Linked DNA regions of Homo sapiens: regions 1, 2, 3, 4 and 6 are each linked to region 5. Evidence: promoter capture Hi-C in 16 types of primary human blood cells and fetal thymus (Javierre and others, 2016). All regions are on one chromosome and are shown on one strand. Each heading gives the region's core, a stretch centred on a gene start or on the middle of the fragment in contact. The rest is flanking DNA. Distances are from core to core; before and after follow the strand shown. Region 1 holds the start of TASOR (transcription activation suppressor). Region 2 overlaps CCDC66 (coiled-coil domain containing 66). Region 3 overlaps RBM15B (RNA binding motif protein 15B). Region 4 holds the start of TEX264 (testis expressed 264, ER-phagy receptor). Region 5 holds the start of ACTR8 (actin related protein 8). Region 6 overlaps DOCK3 (dedicator of cytokinesis 3).

Evidence for each region. The method cuts DNA at HindIII sites, captures the fragments that hold promoters and counts their contacts. A CHiCAGO score of 5 or more calls a contact.
Region 1: a contact is called between a fragment that was not itself captured here and the fragment with the promoter of ACTR8 in region 5, in 4 of 17 cell types (naive CD4 T cells, fetal thymus, total CD8 T cells and 1 more). The highest score is 9.3, in naive CD4 T cells.
Region 2: a fragment that was not itself captured here is called in contact with the fragment with the promoter of ACTR8 in region 5 in 1 of 17 cell types (naive B cells); the score reaches 5.0 in naive B cells.
Region 3: a contact is called between a fragment that was not itself captured here and the fragment with the promoter of ACTR8 in region 5, in 1 of 17 cell types (neutrophils). The highest score is 6.5, in neutrophils.
Region 4: a contact is called between a fragment that was not itself captured here and the fragment with the promoter of ACTR8 in region 5, in 1 of 17 cell types (fetal thymus). The highest score is 5.6, in fetal thymus.
Region 6: a contact is called between a fragment that was not itself captured here and the fragment with the promoter of ACTR8 in region 5, in 1 of 17 cell types (neutrophils). The highest score is 7.8, in neutrophils.

What each region holds. Positions count from the first base shown.
Region 1 is chr3:56,680,882-56,684,024 of GRCh38, forward strand. TASOR (transcription activation suppressor) reads right to left here and starts at 2,384. Exons shown (of 24, transcript NM_001365635.2): 1 at 1,795-2,384. The coding sequence starts at 2,125. RefSeq lists enhancers at 1,215-2,159, 1,367-1,486, 1,907-2,076 and a silencer at 2,217-2,516. The HindIII fragment of the contact is 596 bases long and covers 1,555-2,150 here.
Region 2 is chr3:56,563,727-56,566,832 of GRCh38, forward strand. CCDC66 (coiled-coil domain containing 66) reads left to right here. Exons shown (of 18, transcript NM_001141947.3): 4 at 1-399; 5 at 2,868-3,033. Among named protein-coding and RNA genes, the nearest start is that of CCDC66, 8.1 kb to the left of the region's middle. The HindIII fragment of the contact is 3,205 bases long and covers 1-3,106 here.
Region 3 is chr3:51,397,647-51,400,490 of GRCh38, forward strand. RBM15B (RNA binding motif protein 15B) reads left to right here. Exons shown (of 1, transcript NM_013286.5): 1 at 1-262. It overlaps DCAF1 (DDB1 and CUL4 associated factor 1), which reads right to left. Exons shown (of 25, transcript NM_001387579.1): 25 at 196-1,181. The coding sequence ends at 1,123. Among named protein-coding and RNA genes, the nearest start is that of RBM15B, 7.8 kb to the left of the region's middle. The HindIII fragment of the contact is 236 bases long and covers 1,232-1,467 here.
Region 4 is chr3:51,670,362-51,673,546 of GRCh38, forward strand. TEX264 (testis expressed 264, ER-phagy receptor) reads left to right here and starts at 891. Exons shown (of 5, transcript NM_015926.6): 1 at 891-927. LOC124906237 (a long non-coding RNA gene) reads right to left here and starts at 744. Exons shown (of 2, transcript XR_007095907.1): 1 at 288-744. RefSeq lists a silencer at 627-1,056. The HindIII fragment of the contact is 3,279 bases long and covers 1-3,185 here.
Region 5 is chr3:53,880,900-53,884,059 of GRCh38, forward strand. ACTR8 (actin related protein 8) reads right to left here and starts at 1,253. Exons shown (of 13, transcript NM_022899.5): 1 at 1,080-1,253. The coding sequence starts at 1,202. RefSeq lists silencers at 880-989, 1,380-1,469 and an enhancer at 1,140-1,219. The HindIII fragment of the contact is 9,111 bases long and covers 596-3,160 here.
Region 6 is chr3:51,378,694-51,381,662 of GRCh38, forward strand. DOCK3 (dedicator of cytokinesis 3) reads left to right here. Exons shown (of 53, transcript NM_004947.5): 52 at 1,432-1,514; 53 at 2,357-2,969. The coding sequence ends at 2,866. Among named protein-coding and RNA genes, the nearest start is that of MANF, 5.1 kb to the right of the region's middle. The HindIII fragment of the contact is 4,570 bases long and covers 1-2,969 here.

The DNA of each region.
Region 1 (3,143 bases), core at 603-3,102, 2.8 Mb after region 5:
AACAGCTAGATTTATATTTCCTAATCCCTCAATTATTTCCACTTTTAGTGTGTTCAGCTGAAGTCTATTTTACAACAATCTCTGGATTTTATCTAATTTTAAAAAAACACACAAACACAGTGCCTTTCCAGTTCCTACTGCCTTCCCACATTTCAAACTAAATTTTGAAGAGTTTCTAGGCCAATCTTCTGGTCCTAACAAACAGTAAAAAAAAAAAAAAAAAAATCACGGTTTGTCCATATTCTTAGGCACTTAAACCTTAAAAATAGATTTCAAACGGCTTTTATCAAGCTGTGAAGAAAAAAAATAGTTCCACCTCCTACCTCATAACCAGAGCCCATTTGAATGTACTTCCTACCTATTCTCTACCAATTGATTACACTGGGAACTTTTCTCATACAGACTATAATCATACATCTCAAATTTTAACTAAATACACGAAAAGAACTGAGTTTTGACCTTTAAAAGTATCTTTCTGAACCCTAAAATTACATTAACTCAAAAGATATTTCTAGAAACATTCCTCATGCTAATTTCCAAAGGTTAACTTCATCTTTGTCAACATGGTTTCTCACACCAAGTATTTTCTTGGCTTTGCCATCCAAACAAATGAACTTTATTTGTATTTTTCCAATAAAAGGCTCAAACAATTCCAGTAGTGCAAATGGAACTGGTGATGCTTATGGAAAGTCAGTATAATGCTACAGCCAAGACTCTGTACCAGATGGATGGAAAAGATACGGGAAAAAAACAAATCCTATTTTTTTCCAAAGTAAATAATGAAAACCTAACCATACAGTAGGGCAAAAAGGAAGTTGTCTAAATTCAGAATATCCAAAATTTACTGGATAGTTAAAAAATAATACCCCAATAACAAAAAACGATACTAATTTTGACCTCCATTAGGAATTCTGACTCCATATTAACAATATGGCATTAAGATTTTTTAAAAGTACAAGTAATTAATGTAACTGTTTCCATATGGGTTCCAAAAACTAAGACTGGACTTTTTTTTAACCTGAAGTTCTACCATCTAGAAGACCAAGTTGGTGACTCTTGAGAATAAGGTAACTTCTCATTAGTTTTTTTCCATTGGGAAATTACTGCTCCAAGAACCTACCTTTCCATTCTTTTCAAATATAAGAAAAACAATACTAAGTTCGAATTTAAAGAGAGAAAAACCTATTTAATCTAACGCTTCAAAAACAAGGGGGAAAAATCTACATGGAAATGAAGTGTGATGGAAAACAGCAGTGTGCATGGATCACATCTACTAATAGAGATTTCTAAATAAGGGAGGACGCTGACATCAAGCACATTTCAAGTAGACACACAGAACTGAAGAATTTCCACGGGGAGAAGCACTCATGGTCCTCAGAACATTGGCAATGGCCTTGGAGAAAGCCCCAGAATCCATGGCCACGGGCTATTTCCATAGCGAGACTTCTCAGAAGCATCCTTAGGAGGACACAACGGCTTCTCTGCTTTCAGGGGCTGGGAGGGAGGGGCGCCGAGCACCATCTTTCCTCTCTGGGAGCTGCAGCCTTACGGACAAGCTTCAAACCTGAGCTACTTCCAACTTCCGCGGGGAGGGGCAGCAGGGGAGCGTGGTTCCACCGCTTTCTCTCGCACCAAACGCGGCAGCTGGGCGGCCGTGGCGGTGAGGGGAGAGGCGGCCGGCGCTGCATGCGTGTTTACGTATCTCGGATGGGTGTGGGAAGAGGAGATAGAAAGATTCTAATGAAAAGATGGAGGGGAGAGAGAGAGGGGGTTGAGAAGAAGGGGAGGCACCACCTTTCTTTTCTCTGCTCTTCCTGGGGATCTGAAAACTCCTCCTAACAGGCCTTTCGGGCTCTTCGGGGCCTCTGGGCAGGGCGGCCGCGCCCGCCTCAGAGGAGTCCTGAGGCTGCTCGTGGCTGAGGCTCTGGGCGGCCTCGGCCCCCGCGTTCTCCTCACGCCCAGCGCCGCCGCTGGGCTCAGCGATGTTGAGGCCGCCGCCGCCGCCATTTTGTTGGGAGGACTCAAGCTCCGGAAGCGCCTGCTTCATCTCGTCGTCTCCGCCGCCGCCACTTTCCCAACTCGCATCCGTCGGCTGACAGGCCTCCGTCTCCACAGCAGTCGCCATCGCGCCGGCCTAAGGAGCTCTGGGAAGCTTCTGCCCACAAGGTCGACGGGTGTGGGGGGAAGGGGCGGCGGGCCAGTCTCGCCGCCGAGCTGCTCTCAGCCCACCCACCCCCTTCCCCCCGTGGCCTCAGGCTGCGCTCCCGACCTGGCAGCCTCTTGGGGGGCCCTGTAGCGGGCACCCCAAATGCGCTGCCCGGTCCTCGGAGCCGCTCCTCCCTCGGGCAGTTCTTCTGCCTTCCCCCGCCACTCAACGTGCGCGCGTCGGGGCCGGGAGGGGGCGGGGCCACCGCGGGCCACTCCACCAATGGGAGCGCGGCACCCGCCTGCGCGAGTGCGGAAATACCGCGCCGGGGGGCGGAGTTTCGGGGCGCCCGAGCCCGCCAAAAGGGGCGACCGCAACGCCCCGCGAGGACCTCGACGCCGCAGCCGTGGCCTGCGGAATGCGTGGGCCCCTGGCGATCTTCGGGTTCCCGGGGATTCCCCCGCCGCGCTGCAGGCGAGGGAGACTAGCTTGGCCTCTTCTCCGGAGCGCAGGCGTCGCCCATTTGTGGGCAAAACCCTTCCTCTGCGCACGAGTTATCTCGGCCCAAACGGGCTTCAGAGCAGTGGATGCGGGACGATCTCGGTTTTATGAACTATTTGCATGTGTACAAAAACCTGGAGAGGAGATAAAAGAATGGGCTAGGCGGTAATAGCCTAAAAGCCTCGACAGCCTTTGCGACCTGCTATTCTCACCGGATCTTGTATCTTTATGATAGATTACTCGCACCCGGCCTTCTCTTTTATCTCAGAGAGTGTGACCCAGTGTCACAGCTCCAGCAAGCACTTTCACCTGAGATCCTCTGATGGGACTTAACAACCTAGTGTTAACAGGATTTGGTTCTGGGGAGTTTGAGGGGAGGAGGCTGTTAACTTTTCCCATTTTTTTCCTTTAGTCGCACCCCCCCCCACCACACGCCATGGAGACCGCACCTGGCCTCCATTTGTTCCCTTTCTATGGTTACTTCTGTTAAAAATCT
Region 2 (3,106 bases), core at 290-2,789, 2.7 Mb after region 5:
AAACTGGGCACATTCTAAAATCAACACAAGATACTTGTATTGGGAGTGAAAAACTTTTGCAAAAGAAGCCAGTTGGTTCAGAAACATCACAGGCAAAAGGTGAAAAAAATGGAATGACTTTTTCATCCACTAAGGATTTATGTAAACAATGTATAGATAAAGACTGTCTTCATATCCAGAAAGAGATTTCACCTGCAACCCCTAATATGCAGAAGACTAGAAACACCGTAAATACATCTCTAGTAGGTAAACAGAAGCCTCACAAAAAACACATCACAGCTGAAAACATGAAGAGCAGTTTGGTGTGTCTAACACAAGACCAACTACAACAGATTTTGATGACTGTAAACCAAGGAAATAGATCTCTTTCCCTGACTGAGAATGGAAAGGAGGCAAAAAGTAAGATTTTTCTAAAGTTTTCATGAATTTTGATTTTTTCAATATGTGTTTTAGAATATCAGATTCATTGGGTTTTATGTAACTGTGACTCTTAAACTCTAATTTAACCTGTCAATCTATTAAAATAATTGTTCTTTTAGAGGACTTTCTCTAATATGCAAAATTATTTTTATAGTTGTGCCATATTTTAAGGTTAGTGTTCAGAATATTAAGAAACCTAGTTTCTGTGGATTTTAGAAAAAATGTTAGTACAAAAAACTATTATTATACTTATTTTAGAATATAGGAGGCTTTACTCATATTTAAAATAGTTATATGAAACATTGTTTAAAAACAAATTACGGTATTTCCAGTGAAAATTAAGGAAACCTTACTATGACTATTTGACTTGAGTTACTGAAAAACATTGCTTTCCTGGCCACAGCATTTACTCTTCCTGTTCCTCATTCCATGCTAAGAAATGGCAGTACTTTTTTTAAAAAACAAGGTTAACACAGATTTGGAAGGAACAGTAGAGTGTTACATGCTTTGTCTTTCACAAGTCCTGGCATTGTATTGTGTTTTTAAAAGCCTTCTAATTTCCACTTTGGGATAAGGAATTGCGAATATGAAGACAATAGAAATATCTAAAATTTTATTAGGCAATAGTGAAATAAATAAAAAATTAACAGTTCACATGGAGAGGCCCCACAAATGGTTTGGGGACCCATTAACTCCTGAATATTCCCGTGATACTCAAGATGGAATTATTTACTCTCTTGTTATAGATTATTCTTGGTAAAATGAGGGAGCTGGATTTTGTCTTTAAGGCTAAAATTCTAGCAACAACCTGCTTATTAGGCATAACGAGAAATCATATCAACAAAGTTAAAAGCAGAATTTGCCTAATCACGTAGACTTTCATGATTTCTTTCTCTTCACTGGGAGAACTAGCACATTCAAAAGAAATCAGAACATTTTTTGAGCCATCCTGTGAGCCCTCTAAAACATCTGATTTTGATATTATAGCTGGGCATAGAGACAATTCATGAAAAGGTTTTCCACTGATTTCACAGCTAAATAAGAAAAATAACGTCAAGGTAATGAGTATTTATCAAGATATTTGTATTCCCCTTTAGGTTGTGATTTGTGTTATAATTTTTATTTTATTTATTTATTTATTTTTTGAGATGGGGTCTCGCTTTGTCACCCAGGCTGGAGTGCAGTGGCACGATCTTGGCTCACTGCAAGCTCTGCCTCCCGGGTTCACACCATTCTCCTGCCTCAGCCTCCCGAGTAGCTGGGACTACAGGCGCATGCCACCACACCCGGCTAACTTTTTTTTTTTTTTCTTTTTTTTGTATTTTTAGTAGAGACGGGGTTTCACCGTGTTAGCCAGGATGATCTCAGTCTCCTGACCTCATGATCCGCCTGCCTCAGCCTCCTAAAGTGCTGGGATTACAGGCATGAGCCACCACACCCAGCCATATAATTTTTATTTTTATTTTTTATTTATTATTATTATTTTTTTAGATGGAGTCTCGCTCCGTTGCCCAGGCTGGAGTCTCGCTGCGTCGCCCAGGCTGGAGTCTCGCTGCATCGCCCAGGCTGGAGTGCAGTGGTGCGATCTCGGCTCACTGCAAGCTCCGCCTCCCAGGTTCACGCCATTCTCCTGCCTCAGCCTCCCAAGTACCTGGGACTACAGGCGCCCGCCACCACGCCCGGCTAATGTTTTGTATTTTTAGTAGAGACGGGGTTTCACCGTGTTCGCCAGGATGGTCTCGATCTCCTGACCTCGTGATCCGCCCACCTTGGCCTCCCAAAGTGCTGGGATTACAGGCGTGAGCCACCGTGCCTGGCCAGTTTTTATTTTTAAAAGCATGCTGGCAAGAGGAAATGGAGATTTGTTTTCTGTTGTTGCTCGCTTGTTTTCCTTATTTGATATAAGAAATTGTATGGCTATGGTCATGAGCAAGCCATTTAACCTCTGGGCTTCAGTTTCCTTTGTTTTGTTTTGTTTTGTTTTGTTTTGTTTTTTTGAGACGACATCTGGCCCAGACTGGAGTGCAGAGTGCAGTGGCACAATCTCAGCTCACTGAAACCTCCACCTCTTGGGCTCAACCCATCCTCCCACCTCAGTGTCCCAAATAGCTAGGACTACAGGCACGTGCCACCACACCTACCTAATTTTTGTAATTTTTGTAGAGACGAGGTTTTGTCATGTTGCCCAGGCTGATCTCGAACTCCTGAGCTTAAGCAATCTGCCCACGTCAGCCTTCCAAAGTTCTGGGACTACAGGTGTGAGCCACCACTCCCTGCTTCCTTTTTTTCTTTTTGACAGGAAGGGAAACTTAATGGCTACCTCAAGGATTGTTTTGAGAGTTAATTTAAGTAACGTGTAAGACATGTAAGAACTGTATAGCACTATGCCAAGTATTATAACAGATGTAATTTAGTGTTAATTTTAAAACATGTATTTTACCTCCTAGGTCAATATAGTCTATATTTAAACAGTATTTCTAATCAGCCAAAGGATGAGAACATTATGGGATTATTCAAAAAAACTGAAATGGTTTCATCTGTCCCAGCTGAAAATAAATCTGTCTTAAATGAACATCAGGAGACATCTAAACAGTGTGAGCAAAAAATTGCCATGTATGTAACTCCTATCTGTTGTTATTGTGTGGTCATCTTCAGAATATGGTTTTGCTTTTCCTTTACTTGCATG
Region 3 (2,844 bases), core at 100-2,599, 2.5 Mb before region 5:
AGGCCCTCCCCATGAGAGAGCTACACGGCAGGGGCAGACACTGTGAGTATAAGCTACTTTCCTCCCTGGAGTGCTCTATGTGGGCAGAACATGCTCTCCTTGCCTCTCCTGGAAGGTGTCTTCTCTATGGCCTGGCTAGAGCTGCAAAAAAGGGACACACCCCACTTCGGTAAAAGAAAATAGGGAAAGGCCATAAACAAAGACAGACTTGTAGTTTATTTTGTATTTTTTTTAAATAAATACACTTTACATTAAAGAAAAAGGCCTTTGATTTGTAATTTCCACAATGGGGAGAAAGGGAAGAAAAAAAGATTTTTGAAAAACTGAATCACAAAGAAAAATAGAGGGAGTGAACTTATATCCTAAGTTCCCTCAACTCCACAAAACCAATATCCACAATGACCATGCTGCCCCCAAACCATGAAGGTGAGTGAATTTAGGCATTTACCCAGCAGACAGAGTGCCTTCCTCCCCACCTCTGGCACGAAGGAAAACAAATTAACCTGACAGCATATGAGGCAACAAAACAGGTTAAAAAATCATATATTATATTTATAATAAAATATTCTTAATCCTTATCAATTTAAGAAACCACGATTTTCCTTTTCATTTAAATACGTATGTAAAAATGCCTCTATATTGTTCTTTAGACATCATTTTCTTCCAAAGAAAATGAAGTGCAGGGACAAGAGACCTGGTGGATATAAGTTCATACCCTCAGTTATAAATGCCTGTTTTTTTTTCCTTTTTAAAGTTTTATAAAAAACTATTTCTTGTTCTTTAAGTAAAGAACACTATACAAAGAAAATATATTGTGAAATACCCCAGAGACATGGTTTTTTTTTCCCCTTGAAAGATATGTCCATCCTAGGAAATGGTGGGGGGTGGATGTGGGGGGTGCAGAGTAGGGCCTAGTCCCTGTTGTCATTTTTGTGGTGGTTATTGATTCTGGAAGGACCCTCGGGTGCCAATGAGGCTCTCTAAGCCATAATCTTCTGAATGCAGGGCATGCAGCTCCTTAAAAGACAGACAGCCCTGGGAGAAAGAGAAGGGAATATGTTCTGAATTCATTTGACTCAGTTTCTCGCCTGCCAAGAATCTCTTCCAAGCAGTGATGGCTCCTCACTCATTCAGAGATAAGATGATGTCATCTTCCAAATCAGAGTTGTCAGAGCTGTCAGCTGAAAGGGAAGAAAAGGGAGAGACAAGATTACACACTAGGCTTATAGGAAGCTTTCCTACAGAAGCACCTGCACTCACATACATTCATGCCCGAGCAAGGTTAACTACCAGTTTCCAGAAAGAAGAAAACACATCAATTAACTCCTTGGAGCTGGCTCTGGAGAATACTCCTGTTGCTTGGCAGTTGTATTCTCCCGGAGACCTTTTGCTCTCCTAAGGGCCTGGACACAGTTCCCCTGCTTCCTGCCTGGGAGGCGCTGAAGGGATCAAGCGAGTGCCATCTGAAGCTTCCCCCCATGCCACTTTAAATGGCTGCAAAGGGGCAGAGCTGACGGGAGCAGTGAGTAAGCCTCCATGGCCCTTGGCCTCTGCTGTCCTTCAAGGATACGCACAGGCCTGCCTGACCCCAAGAGACCACTAGAAAGGCAGGCTAAGACCAGGCAAAAGTGAGAGATGTATCTTTTCTGAAACACCTTAGTCACTCCCTTCAATCCTCAGAAGACCGACCACCAAGGCAGAGATAGTCACCCTAGATTCATGCCTCTGTAATTTCAGAATATAGTCTGCAAATTATATTCCCAAAAAGGTGCAGGCCAATTTGCAGCAATACAAGAGAAGTAGCTACCCATCCAGAGGCAGGAGGCCAGCGGGAGCAGTGTGACGCCCTGGAAGACAGCACTGTCTCTGATGAGGACCCTCTCTGCTTGACAATCTGCCTTCTCTGGCAGCACACGGACACATTAACACTTCTGGAAGGATCTGTTAAGGGGTGAAACTTAAGTGGTAGCAAAAAGGACCCTCAAGATGAGGTAGATACACCATGTCTGGCTGATCAAAATCAGAAAGAAACAGGGTACCTAGCTTGTAGGGACTCTAATATTCGCTGAGTCAAAGAAAAGGAAAGTTCTCAGTGCCCAATTTGATTACTCGTAGCTCAGGAGGCTATGAAACCATTTTACCTAGGTCCCCCATAAAACAGACAAACCCTGAGCCCGTAAAACAGACAAACCCTGAGCTGGAGCCCTGCAAATGCCCCATGTGGTAAGGGGCAGCCACTAGATGCAAAGAATCCCTCATCAGCCTTTTTCCAGTGCCTAAGAGAATCAACTCTTGGACAAACAGAGAGCAATCATGTTCCCAAACCTTCCTTCATTCATTATCCCCAAACACAACTTCCTTTAGGAGGAAAACTGAAGTGGACAAAGGAAAACCAAGAAAAGCATGGCAATGATACAAAAAAGTCTGGAAGTAAGCAAAAGAAATGGCTGACAAAACCAGTGTTCCTGGGTCTAAGTGGGCACAAGAGTGGCCTGACTGTATTGGTGATGTATTGGTGAAGAGTAGGAAAACAAGATGGAGATGGCAAAGAACTATTATCTAACACAGCTGAACAAAGCAAGCCTCAGCTCCTCTGCTGTAAGAGCTCCAGGAGGAAGTGTCACAGGAGGGTGTGGGGCCTCCTCCCCAGAGCCAAGTCCAGCACTGTGTCCCCACCCCATACCACAAACTTGCCTGGTCCCTGCGGCAGCATCCACAGCATCCCCCAGGACTCATGCTCTCCACAAGCCAACAATGCCAGACCCACCGGCCTGAGACCCTTCTGCCCAGCAGCTATGCAGCTCTTAAGAACTAAGAATCTTAACCACGCTGTAGCACATCTAA
Region 4 (3,185 bases), core at 297-2,796, 2.2 Mb before region 5:
TGCTTTGTAGTTTGTAGGTCCTCAGAAATTTGAGGTGAAGATTGAACCAATCATCAAGGAGCTTACACTTGACGTGGGAATCACGTAAGTTACCGCTAAACCACAAAGGTAGACCAGCCTCCCACAGCCACAACCTGGGCACTGAGGGAGGAGCCTGGAAGAAGGGCATTCCCATGGAACGTGAACTCCAGGAGGGCAGAACCTTGGTTTTGTTCACTCTATCCCCAGCCCCTAGAACTGTCCTGGCAAGGAGTAATAATAAGTGTTGGATGGATGAATATACTCACGGAAGTGGGAATGGGTGGGTGGAGGCAGGAAGCAGATATTTGCGCTATGCAGAAGTTGGATCCACCAGTTTCTTCCGCGAGCCCAGACTGGGCTTCAGCTTCCTCACCTATGCCTTTCTTGGTTCCCAAGTCTGTTGCGAAGCCACAGTGAGAGAAAGTGGCAGGACTAAAGGTGGTACAAATGCCAGAGGCTGATACTGCTGTGCTGCGCCTCCCTAGGCTGTACAAATTCTCCTCAGCCCCAGCTCCCTGGTCCCCAGCCTGGCCCTCTACTGCGGGCCACTGGGCTGCCTCCCGTACCCGAGCCTGGGCCAGGCTGTCACTGTGGTGCTCCTGCCAACCCAGATGCCCTGGGGTGTTGCTAAATCAACCTCAGCAACCGGATAGTTTGTTGGAGGCGGGAAGGTACGCCGTGGGTTCCGCCGCAGCCAGCGCTGGGGCTAGGCACACGCCCGTTGCCATGGAGACGGGGCGGGGCAGGCCTCCGCCCTCCGGGTCCCGCGCGCACGCGCCCACGGCCACGGCCATGTCCCGCCGCGAGAGGGGGCGGAGCGAGCGTGCGCGGCGGGCGCGCGCAGGCTCCGTAACCGAACCCTGAGCCGCCTGCGCGGATCGGCGTCCGCAGCGGGCGGCTGCTGAGGTGAGGGCCGGGCCAGAGGAGAGGCATACCCACTGGGGCGTAGGTCTGGGACTCCCCCTGTCCGCCCTGGCGCGACCTCAGGACTCTCCGTGTCCCCTCCGTGACCCCCGCGGCCCGGGCCGCTCTTTGCATCTTGTCTTGCCCACAGCTGGCCTCGGCCAGGTCCGAGGGCCTGGATGCGACCTTGGGGCAGCCCCTACTCTTCCGGGCAGCCCACTTCCGCGGCCACCGGTGCAGGGCATGCCCCGGGGCCGTGGAGGTGAGGGAAAGAGGCGCGAGTCGCGTTTTAACTCCGCCCCCGTCCCCCAAGGCCGCGCCTCGCAGCCTGGGCTGCAAACTTTAGCGTCCTTTAAGTTACAGACGTGCGTGGGGCTCCGTGAGGAGGTGGGCGAAGAGAAAGGCTCTGAGTAAATAGGCAAGGCCCGGGGTGAGCAGGGGCTGGAATCCGAAAGTGGGAGGCGGCGGCCCCCCACCCTCCATAGTCCTTCCGCCCTCTGCTAGCACCGAAGTTTAGCCCAGGACGGGGGCCGTTTAAGGGCCCGGCCCTCCGCCGCCGCGCACGTGAGCGGCACCAGGAAGCTGGCTGGGCGCAGCCTTCCCTGAGGCTCGCTGGCACCGGCCGCACGCGTCCATCCCGGGCCTCTGAGCGGAGGGGGAGCCGAGGCTAGAGGGAGGGCGCAGTCTGCCCAAGGTCAGCGGCAGCGGCAGTTTCTGGGCGCCAAGTGTGATTGGAGTACTCCAGGAAGAGGGGCGTGACCAGAGCTCTAGCGAAGAGACCTGACATTGTAAAGCTAGGTTTGGCTTCTGATTTCCACAGGGGGTTTGAGAATGGGACGAGGGTGCTTTAGAGGGACCGGTAGGCTTTCCCTGAGGACGGTAATCAGGGCATGATGGTTGGCTCAGTGGTTATTTCCTGGGCAGGGGTGACTGTTCTTTCAGCTCCCAGCACTGGAGCGCTCGGCCCCTGCCGCACTGGATGCCAGCAGTTACTAAAAGTGAGCCTGGCATTTCAGGTGAGCTCCCAGACCTTCTTCCTTTTCTCTTGAATATAGGGGAAATTCACGTTACCTCTCCACGTGCCGACCAAGGCTCTGAGACCCCCAGGTGGGTTTTCTTCCCCCCCGCCGTTTTCTGAGCAGTTTGGGAAGTGAGAGGAAGAGAAAGGTAGATACTAAGTTTCCTTGAGGAGACAGGAAGTGTTCAGCTGAGATGGCAGATCAGGGTGAGGGCTTGTCATTCCCAAGGCAAGTGGGGGCCTAGATGCTGAGAGTTTTCCAGCTTTGGGCTCAGAGATGTCCAACAAGGATTTAATGCTTCAGGCGTTTTGGAAGCCAGTCACCAGAGAGGAGAGAGAAAGTGGAAATGAGGGGCTGGAATCAGACTGTCTGGGCTTGTGTTGCCTGCATTTTGGTCCACGTGGCTCTGTTTAATACCTGTGTTACCTTGGGCAAGTCTCTTAACCTCTAACTACTTGAACCTTTAGCCTTACCTACCTCTTTGGATTGCTTTGAGGGTGAATGAAGTAGCTGTGTTTCAACATTTAGACAGTGCCTGGCGTATAGTAAGCATTCAGTGGAAGATTTCTCATCATTATCAAAGAAAATTGGAATGAAAGTTACTGGAGACAAGATGAGTAGGACAGGCAGAAAAGAGAGAGATACTGATGGGTAGAAGCACAGATGGGTGAGACTAGTGGGCAACACCTCAATTTCTTGACACCGAAAGTTTAGAAATTTACTTTGCCTCTTTGTGAGCAAATACTGTGTGCTCATTGACTCCAAAGACAATTTTTTTTTAGCGTAAAATCAACACCCAGCACCCACAGGGAAGAAATAATTCCACAGAGCTAAGTATTCCACAAAGTTGCAGCGTGGCCTTTTTAGCTTCAAAACCTTTTAAATGTTAAATATTACTTTTAAATAATTGGGGTGGGAATGTCCCCCCAGTGGGTCACATGGCTCCCTTCCTCTTTAAACAGTCTTCTCTGGGCTGTGATTTTTCCCCCCCGCCAGGCAACTCAGGTCAAGCCCTCTGTGTAAGAGGGTTAGGCCTCTGGCCCCAAGCTGCCTGGAGAACTAGGCAGCCTGCCTTGAATAGCTCACAGACTGGCCTCTGTGTTATGTTCCTGGGACTGCTCTTGAACAGCTTCTTTTCCTCTTAGGGATAATTGTTACTTCCTCCTGCTGTGCGACTCCCCTTTTAGCAGCCTTTTCCTCTTACTACTCACTGTTTCTTCTGTGGGCTGGAAAATTGGGATG
Region 5 (3,160 bases), core at 3-2,502:
GCTTGAGTGCCCAATACTGCCCTCTGCACAAGCCCATTCCATGCCATGCTCTGATACCTGTTGTCCTATCTCCAAGTGTGACCTCTCTCCTCCTAATCACCCCCCACAGAGTGGGAGAATCCTAGAGGGAAGGATCTGGCAAGGCCCTTACAGACCATCCAGTCAGCCTTCTCAACTAGACAGATGGAGAAACCAGGCCTGTGCAACAGTAATGGCCACTCTGGGCTTACGGTGTGCCAGGCACTGTCATACTAGTGATAACTAACTAGTAGCTGCCCTACTAGTTAGGTATTATCCTTAACCCATCTACCGGTAAGGAAGCTGGATCAGAGATGTCCTACATGAATTTCTGAGCAGTTTATGCCTCATTTCTTCTGTGAATTGTACACTGCCTGTGCCCGTTTTCCTACGTGAATGCTGTTTTAGTTACTGATCAGTAAGGTTTTGTGTATGTGTATACATCTAAGGTCCTCTGCCAGGCACGCTACTGCAAATAATTTTTTCTGGTTAGTTTAGTTTGGTCTAATAGTGTTGTTTTTGATACACAAGCTCTTAATATATATTTAGACAAATGTCCACCATTTCCTTGCTTTTAAGCTTGAAATGACTTCCATTATCTGAGATTTCCTTAACAAAGGAAAAAGCCTGGACCCCAAACTATCCCTTAACAAGCACAGGCTGACGCTCCCAGTGAGCCAGCCTGGTCCTAAACTCTATCTGCCACCATTTAACCCTCACGGCAACTTGCGAGGCGGCTGGTTATCACCGTGGTCGTTTTATGGTCGGGGAAGCTGAGGCCAGAGCCCGGGCAGGAGCGCACACAACCAGACGGTGGGGCGTGCGGGAGATCGGAGCGGTGTCCCTGCGGGGGCTCCGCCTGGCTCCTGGCGCTCCGCACCTCCCAGCCCTCGGCGTCCCGGCGCGCCACCACCCGGAAAAGAACGACCGCTTCCGCACTCCCCCCACCAGGGGCTGGGGCCTGCAAGGGGGACTCGAAGCCTCCCGCCGCCTCCCGCCCCTTGCCTGGCAGCGGAGGACCCAAGCAAGGGCAAAGAGTTCCAACCCAGCCAGAGCCGCACCTCTTGCAGCGACTCCGGCACCAGCGCGGGCACGATGGGCCGCTTCACGCCGCGCTGCTCCTTCTCCTTCTCGCCGCCCTTCTCCTTTCCGTTCTCCGTATCACCCTTCTCAGCCTGGGTCATTATGGCCGGAGACACCCACCAACCTCTCGCCTCAGCGCTGCAGCCACGACTGCCGGGATGGAAGGGCCACCGCGCAGGCGCACGGCCGGCTGCCCACAGTCAAGATGGCCGCCGCGGAGTCGCCCCAGAGGGCTCCGAAAAGGCGGGGGTGGGGCTGCCCGGCGCAGGGGCTGGGGGCGGGGTGTGCATGCGGATTGATTGGGTGGGTGTTGCTGTGATTAGTCCTGACTGTGTAGATGCCAGCAACATAGTACACATAGCTTTTCGAGCGCCTAGTGGGGGTCGGCTGATAACCCGCATCTTATTTCGTCCTCACAGGCATCTCTTCTCCTGGCTTCCCAGATACCATATGTACTCTTAGTTTTTCTCATATGTCTTCATGTTCAGTCCAGCCTCTGATGTTGGGGTTAGGTCTTTTCCAGGCACACTCCTTGGGTGACTATCCAGTTTCCTGGCTTTAGCAATGAATACGATTCCCAAATATATATATCCAGGATGAACCGCTCAGAGAGATCCGTACTGATAACCAGTGCCTACTTGGTCTCTCCATCTGGATTGTCTACAAGGCACTGCAAACTTAAATATGTCCAAAATTTAACTCTTGATTCCCTCCCCTCTCACTTTCACCATCTCAGTAAATGTCATTTTGATTCTTCACTTGTTGACAGCTTCTACATCCAATCCATCAGTAAATCCTGCAGTCTCTAAAATAGATCTTGAATTCATCCACTTCTCCATTCCCATGCCACTACCTAGCCCAAGCCACTATCATCTCACCTGGATGACTACAACAGCCTCTTAACTCGAACTCCTTGTCCTGTCCCCCTATGATCTGTTCTTATATAGTTGCCCACGTTGTTTTAAAATATTACGTAGTTAATACTACTATGTACCCAGCACTCCACTAAGACTTACCTCAAAAATTAGATGTCACTCATGCTTTAAACTCTAATGGTTTCCCTTTGCTCAAAGAACAGAATCTAAACTAACCACCACCTAAAGACCATATCTAGTTATTGCTACATTTCTAAGTTCACCTCACAACACTCTCCCCATTCCTTGGCATTTCCAGCTACACCTGTTTTATCTTTCTCAGACATGCCAAGCCCTTCCCGTCATCGGGCTGTTGCACTTGCTGTTCATTTTGCCTTGGATGCTCTTCCCTCAGCTGTCTCATTCTCACGTCTGAACTCAAATGTCACCTCAGGCCTTCCGCAGTTATTCTCTCATCATCCTATTCCCTTTGAAGCATGAAGCATTAGTCTGTAATTATCATGCCTGCTCACTGTCTCCCACACTAGAATGTAAGCTCCGTGAGACTTTGCCAGTTATCTTCAGCACATGGTAGGTGCCCAATAAGCATGTGATGACTAAATACTAAATAAAGAACTCTTGGAGGTAAAAATTTAATCCCCGTTTTACAGGTGAGTGAAGTGGGATAAAATGGCATAATTCACTCAAGATCATAAGCTATTGAGTAGCAAAGACAAGAGTTAAGCATAAAGTACTCAAGAACCTGTGTTTTACATTCTATCTGAAGTGCAAAGAAGAATACCTGAATGTCAAATGCAGCCAGAACTCTGGGATAAGACCCGAGGAACAAGTCCTGCAGCAGCAGTGCTAGGAGGCAGAAGAGGACCATGGTTCACATGCTCAGGAAGAGCCATCAGTAACAACAATCAACCACCTACTGAGACTCTGCCATGGTCTCCCCGCTATAGGGTAAGGTGGAGGTTTAATAATGCCTCTGCCATTCACTGGCAATACAATCTAGGAAGCTGCCAAACTTTACTGAACCCTTGCATGTATCTGTATAATGCAAATGTCATTATACATTTACCTCACTTTGTATATATGTATACATTATACATATCCCTCACTTTGTCAGAATTTAAAATGTGTAAAAATTTACAGGCTGGGCATTGTGGCTCACACGTGTAATCCCAGCGTTTAGGGAG
Region 6 (2,969 bases), core at 261-2,760, 2.5 Mb before region 5:
TTCTGCAGAGTGGCACCCTCAGACCCCAAGGTCCAGCCATCATTCCTCTCTCCTCCTGAAAAGTCTGTCATCCCAACTGTGGCTGAGGGGACAGTATTCTGGCAGTGGACTCCTTCTTTAACACAGAAGGGCACTCTGTGCTTCCCTTTTTCCTGGGCCCACTGCACCCCTGCATCCATGGCATGTGGGTGCTAGGAACTGGGGTTCTGTAGACGCCAAAGGGTACTCATCGGCTCCACAGCCCTCCCTCCTCCTGTTAGGAAGCAGTGGGTCCAGCTGGATCTGGGCTGCAGTTTCTTCCAACAGGTACCTGTCCTTGCTCCCTGCTTTTCCCACTGAGCCTGGGCAGTAGGAGAGCTGACTCTAGACTTTGGCAAGGAGCTCTATGTCCTGTGCTCTCTCTATATTCTCTCATTCTCATCTCTACTCTTCTGTCCTGTTTTCTCTTCTCCTCCTGGCAGATCCCAGAGGCTGCAGGCGTTCACTCCTTGCTGCACATTCAGCTATCTCATCCTGAATACTCTTTAGACATAAACTCACTCTGTTGCCCTCCTCTTAAGCAGCTTCAATCCCTGGCCACTCTCCCCTGTGGACCACAGTGCCTTGCTTGGCCAGCGTTTTTAGTTCCAGGTGCTGGCATGCCCCACATGTGTGCTGGATACGTGGTGCACACTGGAGAAGCCACAAGCTGTACTTCTCCCAGAGGGTGGCTCAAGAAGTAACCTCCCTTCATGCCATCTGTTTCCACCCTTCAGCTGTGCCAGCAGCCCCCAGCAGCTGGAGTCTGGATAGCGGAGCCCAAGAGGCCCAGCCCTTCCTGTCTGCCCATATGGGGCGCATCCTGGCCCCCCCAGTGCCTCCCCGAAGCCTGCTGCATGGTAAGAAGACCTCCAGCGGGTCCCCCGATAGTCCCTGGTCTCAGACTCTGCTCAAGGGCCACAGCAACAGCCATCTAAGCTGAGAAGATGGGCCATTCTCTGGGCCGACTCAGCCAAAGCCAAAACACCCCCACCACAGGAAGGATCCTGCTGGGCTTTGGGGTCAGTGAGGTTTCCGAGTACAGCAGGTTAGCTCAGGAAGGCCATCCCAACCAGAAGGCTGAAGACAATGGAATTGACTGTGCCAGGCACACTTCTCACCAGACTGTCTCATCGCCTAGCAGTGGGCTAGAGCTGCCGCTGCCTGAGGCCTGTTCCACAGACTCTGAAGCACTCAACTTCTCTGACTTCCTGTGTGGAGTGAGTTTCTTTTACCCCAGCAGCCTGTGTTTTGGAGAAGGCCAGTGTAAAGAGAGGTTTATCCATAGCCCTCAATGCTGAGGGGTCCCCAGGGGACTCTTCTCATGCCTGCCCAGTTGGCCCAGCAAGATGGTGCTGGCATGAAGTCTGTGCAGGGCCCCCAGCTGAGGCTCTGGTTCTGTTCCCTTTGCAGGTCATTACTCCCTACACTTTGACGCCTTCCACCACCCTCTGGGTGATACCCCCCCAGCCCTCCCTGCCCGGACCCTGCGCAAGGTAATGTACTGAAGCGGCAGCCCCACCAGGCTGTGAGATGAGTCATCTCGTCTGCTCTAGAACCACCCTTGGGGTCTACAGGAGGAACTGGAGCCCTCCCCTTCACCTCTCTCCCCAGCCTGGCAGAAGCTGGGGGTGGCCAGAGCCACACTTGAGCTGCAGGTGCACATTTGTGTCCTGCAGCAAATGTGATGGGGGCAGGGAGATCAGAGGGTCCTGGAGACAACAACACACAGTACCAAGAGTGTGTGGGCAGTGAGCACTGGGAAACCTGGGGGCTCTCAGCCAGCACCAAGGTATCAACACACTGTAGTTCGCTAGCTAAACAAATGTTCCTGTGGTGGATCAGAGAGCATTTCAAACTAGAATTCAGTAAAAGCAAGAACTTTATGAAAAACTCAGGAGAGTAAAATTTCCTACCTGTTAGCTTGTCTGCAAATTGGAAAAGACTGAGTCTATCACAGATTTTAGCAGCAGAATACATTCCTCTGGTCCACGGCCCACCAGGGTTCTTTCTGCCCCTCCTCAACAGGCCTGATGACCCAGCCTTTATGTCAGTATCCCAGAGCCACCGACGGCAGCCTGGGACCTGGGACCAGGGGGCACCAATGCCCAGCAGCCAGGGCAGGGCAATTTTTTGGCCACAGAAATGCAGATGATTCTGGAGTTCCACTGGCTTAGGGGTGGTGGGAGGAGCTGGGAGCTTGCTGCTGAAGAAACAAGAAACATGCTGTTGATGAGGGTTAAAGTTCATTCATAAGCAGGCTCTTGGTCTTCCTATGGCGGGCAAGTCAGCCTGTCTGGAGAGAGGGATTCTAACATGCCCACCCTTTCCTTCGCAGTCTCCTCTCCACCCTATCCCAGCCTCCCCCACAAGCCCCCAGTCAGGTCTGGACGGCAGCAACTCTACGCTGTCCGGCAGTGCCAGCAGCGGCGTGTCCTCCTTGAGTGAGAGTAACTTTGGGCACTCCTCGGAGGCCCCACCTCGCACTGACACCATGGACTCCATGCCAAGTCAGGCCTGGAATGCTGACGAAGATCTTGAGCCACCCTACCTCCCTGTCCACTACAGCCTCTCTGAGTCTGCCGTCCTGGACTCCATCAAGGCCCAGCCATGCCGAAGCCACTCAGCCCCAGGGTGCGTCATCCCTCAGGACCCCATGGACCCGCCTGCGCTGCCGCCCAAGCCCTACCACCCCCGCCTGCCGGCCCTGGAGCACGATGAGGGGGTGCTGCTGCGTGAAGAGACTGAGAGGCCTCGAGGCCTGCACCGCAAGGCTCCATTGCCTCCTGGGAGCGCTAAGGAGGAGCAGGCCCGCATGGCCTGGGAGCACGGCCGAGGGGAGCAGTGAGGGGCAACGAGGCGGCTGGGATGCCGCCCTCAGTAAGCAGCTTGCCAATCACTCCAGGTCTGAAAAGCAAGTCCCCCAGCCCCACCCCAGGGAGCCAGAGAGG